2 separate regions of the Homo sapiens genome follow, and region 2 is linked to region 1. The links are contacts of gene promoters, found by promoter capture Hi-C in blood cells and fetal thymus (Javierre and others, 2016). All regions are on one chromosome and are shown on one strand. The core of a region is centred on a gene start or on the middle of the fragment in contact, and the rest is flanking DNA. Distances in the headings are between cores, read along the strand shown.

Region 1 (3,088 bases), core at 234-2,733:
GATTCATGGCTGAATCCCAGAAGCAGCCTGGGAGATTTTGTGGGGAGATGAGGCAAAGTCATCTACTTCCTTGGCAAGGTAAAGGATTCCTTTCAGGAATCATCTTCTACCTCAAGCTGCCGTGTTTTAGTTAAACATCACAGCTCAGTATTGGGACAGAAATGTAGAAGGAAAAAAATGCTGAAGGGTCACAAGCAAGGAGCAGGTCTAGACAGCTGAGAGGAACCATTCTCCTCCAATAGCTCTGTTTCTTCAATAACTGGCCATGTAGACCCGTTCTACCCCCGAGGGCTGGGAGTCGAGTCAGGTTCCAGACTGAAATGCTCCCTGATCTTAGCATTCCTTCACTTGCCATCCCACAGGCACCTCAAATTTGGTGCGTCCAACTCTGAAGGGCTCATCATCACCCCATCATCCTTTTCCTGTGCTCCCTGTGTTAGTCAACTGCAGGATTAACTCCCCGCCCCCCAACCCCAGTCGCTCAAGCCTGAACATTCCTCAACAACGCCCACACCCCCTCAAATCCGGATATTTGGGCTTCCTAAATCTCTACCTCCTAATCTCTTTCACATGCGGTCCACTCCTTTCTGTCCCCATTGCCAAGGTTGGGCCACCACCACCTATCTTTGGGACAACTTACAGTCTTCTAAGGGGGGTCCTGCCTTCGGTCCGCCCCACCTGGCTCATCTCTTTTCAACAGTTTCTGCGGTCCTCACCTGCCCGAGACAGCAGTCTACAATGCGAACACAGTCATGTCCTTCCCCTTCAGCGGTTCCCCACTGCCCCCAATATGAAAAGGAGTTAGAAACCCCTGCCTTCCCACTCCCACCGAGCACCTTCGCCTTCTGAACTGGCCAGGGGCTCTGTTGCTTGCTCGTTGCTCTCAGACCCTTTGCGCAAGGTGCTCCCTCAACCCAAAATAGAATCTCGGCCCACCCTCTGTCGGTCTTCGCCCCACTGTCAGTTGTTCATTTAACAAATATTCGCTGCTTTTGCCAGGCTATGCAATAAACGCTGGGGTTACGCAAGGGGAGCGCAAAACAAAACAAAACAGAGAACAAACAAAAACCACAACTCCCAAAAGTCCATTAAGACCCCTAGCCACAGGGGGCTTACATCTGAGGGGTTACCGTCCCTTGGCACAAGGTGGAGTATGAAATCCGCCTCTGCCTTCCAGGCTTTTCCAGTGCCAAGACCTGCGGGGCCACCAATTGTGAGTCCCCTCCCGCACTGACTACTCCCTCAACAGGACAGGAGGGAAGCTGAACCTGTCGGGACACCGCGCTGGGCACGCTCAGGTCCCACCGCGCGTGCTCATCGGCGGTCCCTAGCGCGAGTTCGGACAGGCAGCGCCCCCCTCCGACTGTGAGCTGGGACGCTCCCGCACGCTTCCCGGCACCCCTTCAGTCTTCATGGTACACCCCGCCCGCAGGTACCCGGACGGCGGAAGTGAGCCGCGGGGGCGGATCTTGTTGTTACGGGTAACGGAAGTGTGGCGGCGTTGGGTTGAGCGGGCTTTTTGGAAGTTTGTGGCGGAGGTGAGGCCGAGGTGACTGCAGAGCGGCTCGCGAGGTGCTCGGGCTGTGGGACTGGGCCCCTGGGAGGGAGCGGTTCTGTGGGGGAAAGGAGGCTCCTGTCCTGACTTGGCGTTCTGGTATTTTCTCTGGCGTGGAAAGTAGGCGCGCTCCGCTGTCTCCCGCCGCCTGCCTCAGCTTTCGCGGTTCCCTCCTAGGGGTGTGCCTCAGTCGGAGCCCCTTCTGTTAAATTCTTCCCCCTTGGCCGAGGGTGAGCTCTTACTTCTGAGAAATTTCCCTTAACCTTGCTTTGCATTTGTTGTCCGGTCGCGGTCTCCATCACCAGCTGCTTCGTGTTATAGTTTTTGTATTTGCGCTCACGGCTTGTTAACTGAAGAACCCGGAAGGGAAGGCCGCGGCGTTTCCCGCCGGCGGGGCTCTGCCATTCTCGGATCTTGGCTTCAGATCTCTGATGCTCCCCAGCGTCTCTTGGCAAGGAATCTACTTCGCGTTCAGGGAATTCACAGCCACCCGCCTCTGGTCTTACCTCTGGTTTTAGGATGATTTTAGCAAATGTGCCTAGGTTGATTTAAACGTATCCCCCTCCGAAGCCGCCTGCCCCTTCTGGCTGGACACCTTTTTAGGTTGGTGTGTCCTGTTTGCATCCGGTAGTTCAAAGCATGGGATCTTGGAGTCCGGAGCTGGACAGACTCGGGTTTCACTTCTCTCTCTGCCACTTGGTAGCCTTCTAATCTTGGGGGAAATTCCCTAATCTCTGAATCCCAAAAGTTGTTCATCTAAAATGGGGCTAATATTACACCTACCTAGTAGGTGGTGTTGTGGGAGTCATGTTAATGAATGTAAAGTGCTGGGTTCAGTGTTTTCCCTATTATAGGGGTTCAATAATTTGTTCAACAAACATTTGTTACCTAGTTTGAGCTAGGTACTGTGCTAAGTGCTGGAGATACAATGATAAACAAAACCAGCTACGGCCCGTGTCCTTAGGGGACTTATAGTCTAGTGGGAGATAACATTTGTTAATCTGATAATTACACATGTAATATTAAAAATTGGTGACAGTATGTAAGAGAGTTTACTGGTGCCATGAGAGGATGTACTAGGGGAACGTTTAACAACCTATACTGAGCTTTTCTTTTCTTTTCTTTTCTTTTTTTTTTGAGACAGAGTCTCCCTCTGTTGCCAGGCTGGAGTGCAGTGGCGCGATCTCGGCTCACTGCAACCTCCGCCTCCTGAGTTCAAGTGATTCTCCTGCCTCAGCCTCACAAGTAGCTGGGACTACAGGTGCGTGCCGTCACGCCCAGCTATTTTTTTTTTTTTTTTTTTTTTTTTTTTTTTTTTTTGTATTTTTAGTAGAGACGGGGTTTCACCATCTTGGCCAGGAAGGTCTGGATGTCTTGACCTAGTGATCCGCCCGCCTTGGCCTCCCAAAGTGCTGAGATTACAGGCGTGAGCTACTGCGCCTGGCCTAGACTGAGCTTTTGAGGAGATGTGGATTGAGCTAAGATCTGAAGGATTTGTAGGAATTAGTAATAAAAGATTGGGGGGCAGTGGAT
Region 2 (3,088 bases), core at 355-2,854, 170 kb before region 1:
TATGGGTAATCATTGATCTATGGACATCTTGAAATTCCACTGGGCTGACATCATAAGGGGCCCCCTATCCTGGGGATAGGGAATATTTCTAGATTAGGTCTTAGTCCTGCCCCTGGAGGAAGGGGGTTCCTCATGCCATTCTCTTTCATGGCCTTTGGCTCTGCCGTCCGGAAGGGCCTTCCTTTTCTATTTTCCTCCTAATGAAGGCGTGTGCCTTCCTGAAGTGTGCCCCCCGCTTGCTCTCTGTGGTAGACTGCATTATTAAATACTCATTGCTCCTCTCCATGGGTCTGTTTTGCTGAACCCTAATTAACCTCAGTAGGGAAGGCACCAGGTTCAAGAGGTCAAAGAAGAGACCCAAAGGTAGCAAATAAGACATGGGGTTTTGGCCGGGCACGGTGGCTCACACCTGTGATCCCAGCACTTTGGGAGGCCAAGGCGAGTGGATCACCTGAGGTCAGGAGTTCAAGACCAGCCTGGCCAACATGGTGAAACCCCATCTCTACTAAAAATATAAAAAATTAGCTGGGCATGGTGTCAAGCGCCTATAATCCCAGCTACTTGGGAGGCTGAGGCAGGAGAACCGCTTGAACCCGGGAGGTGGAGGTTGCAGTGAGCCAAGATTGTGCCTTTGCATTCCAGCCTGGGCAACAAGAGCAAAACCCCGTCTCAAAAGAAAAAAAAAGACATAGGGTTTTATTTGGGGCTTACATACAGGGGAGAGTCTCCAGCAGTGGCAGACTGGACAGGAAAAACGCAACCACTTGCAAACAGCATGCAGTTTATACAGTATTTTCACTTAAAACCCTCCCCTTAACAACCTTCACCTGGTAACCTGCATTTAACCTAAAACAAATGGCCTCCATCCCTTATACGGCCCACATTCCACCAGACAGGAAGGGAGTGGGGTGGAGCTCACATGTTCCTCATAGACAGGAAGGAATCTCTGGGTTGGCCACTCCCAGATTCCCTAGCTCAGAGCACACACTCAGGTGCGTCTGCCATACAGGGTCATTCTAAGGGTATGCTTAAGTTATTGCTATTGGGTATGTTTATCCTACAGGGTCCCTCAATACTGGACGATTATAATGCTCACTCCCTGATGACAAACTTGGTCATATGACTTTTTTGGCCAATGGAAGTGGTGCATGCCACTTTCGGGTAGAAGCTTTATTGTAGGGTGACCAACCTCAGTTACCTGAAGACGAAGACTATTCTGGTTTTAACACTAAAGTGTTGTGTCCCAGGAAACCCCCAGTCCTGGGCAAACTGGGATAGCTGGTCACCCAAGCTGTAAGAGTCATGTCACACTTTTATTTTTTTCCTTTTTGAGGAGAACAAAAATGTCTCCGTTAGAAACCTCCTATGAGCCTTGGTCACAGAATGAGGAGGAAGATAGCTGACCTCGATGGATATGTAATGCAAATAAGAAACAAATGTTTGGGCCAGGTGCAGTGGCTCATGCCTGTAATCCCAGAACTCTGGGAGACCGAGGCAGGTGCATCACTTGAGGTCAGGATTTTGAGACCAGCCTGACCAACATGGCGAAACCCTGTCTCTACTAAAAATACAAAAATTAGCCAGGCATGGTGGTGGGGGCCTGTAGTCCCAGCTACTCGGGAGTCTGAGGCACAAGAATCACTTGAACCCAGGAGGCAGAAGTTGCAGTTAGCTGAGATTGTGCCACTGCTCTCCAGCCTGGGTGACAGAGCAAGACTCGGTCTCAAAAGAGGAAAGGAGGGGAAGGAGAAGGGGAAGGGGAAGGATGAGCAGGAGGGGGAGGGGAAGGGGAAGGATGAGCAGGAGGGGGAGAGGAAGGGGAAGGGGAGGGAAGAAAAGGAGAGGGGAGGGGAGGGAAGGGAAAGTTAAGTTTGGGGTTTATTTAGCCACTGAGTTGAGAAGGTCATTTGTTACTGCAGGATAACTTAGCCTAAGCTGACTGAGGCAGCTCTACATGATATCTTTGGTATTCACCCATTCATCCATTTCTTATTGATGTCTGACAAGTTCTGCCTCTTCTTGCCCTCAATATGGTTATGCCAAGCTTCTCCTTGGAACTTCAGTACTTTTGTGAGTAGAGCTGCCAAGTAAAATACAAAATGCTCAGCTAAATTTGAAATTCAGATAAACAATACATAATTTTAGAAACTTTTCCTAAATTTAAATTGATCATATTAATAAAATTTAATTTTTAACTAGTAAGTTTGCTAAACCTGTTTTCACTACTTAAAATAATTTTATAAGTATAGCCCACACAATATTTGAGACATACTTATACTAAAAAAGTATTTGCTCTTTATCTGAAATTCAAATTTAACTAGGCATTCTGTATTTTCATTTGCTAAATCTAGCAAGCCTAGTTGTGAGGAAAGCACTTTTTGAGGGGCCTGGGACAAAGAATATACTCAGAAAATTCCCACTTCTACAGAGAGCAGCATTGTGGAGCAATGCTAAACTTAATCTATCATCAGATTTATGGGGAGCTTTAAAAAAGGGACCTAGGTGTGAGCTCAGACCTGATTAGCTAGAAACTTGTGTGGAATATCTGGGGAATCTGTAGTTTTTGAGACAGTCTTGCTCTGTTGCCCAGGCTGGAGTGCAGTGGTACGATCTTGGCTCACTGCAACTTCCGCCTCCTAGGTTCAAGCGATTCTCCTGCCTCAGCCTCCCAAGTAGCTAGGATTACAGGTGCCCACGACCATGCCTGGTAATTTTTTTGTATTTTTAGTAGAGACAGAATGTCACAATGTTGGCCAGGCTGGTCTCGAACTCCTGACCTCAGGTGATCCACCCTCCTCGGCCTCCCAAAGTGCTGGGATTACAGGGAATCTGTAGTTTTCTTTTAAAAAGTGTGTTAATTCTGATCATTGGCCAGGTTTGGAAACTAGTGGCCTCACGCACTACTTCTCAAACTCTAACCATGCGAAGCATCTCGGGATCTTGCCAAACACAAATTCTGATTCAGCAGGTCTTGGGGGACCTGAGGTTCTGCATTTCTAATATCATGATATCGATCCTACACATCTGTGGATCACACTGAGTAGCAAGATTTCAGAGCGGTGGGTCTCAAACTTGAACCACCTGGAGG

The links. The method cuts DNA at HindIII sites, captures the fragments that hold promoters and counts their contacts. A CHiCAGO score of 5 or more calls a contact.
Region 2: a contact is called between a fragment that was not itself captured here and the fragment with the promoter of FANCI in region 1, in 1 of 17 cell types (erythroblasts). The highest score is 5.5, in erythroblasts.

Annotation. Positions count from the first base shown.
Region 1 is chr15:89,242,496-89,245,583 of GRCh38, forward strand. It overlaps FANCI (FA complementation group I), which reads left to right and starts at 1,484. Exons shown (of 38, transcript NM_001113378.2): 1 at 1,484-1,538. RefSeq lists an enhancer at 1,687-2,066. The HindIII fragment of the contact is 10,185 bases long and covers 1-3,088 here.
Region 2 is chr15:89,070,751-89,073,838 of GRCh38, forward strand. All of the region lies in intron 2 of CARMAL (coronary artery disease region linked MFGE8 regulatory lncRNA), which reads left to right. It also overlaps a transcript of ABHD2 not described here. Among named protein-coding and RNA genes, the nearest start is that of ABHD2, 16 kb to the right of the region's middle. The HindIII fragment of the contact is 876 bases long and covers 1,167-2,042 here.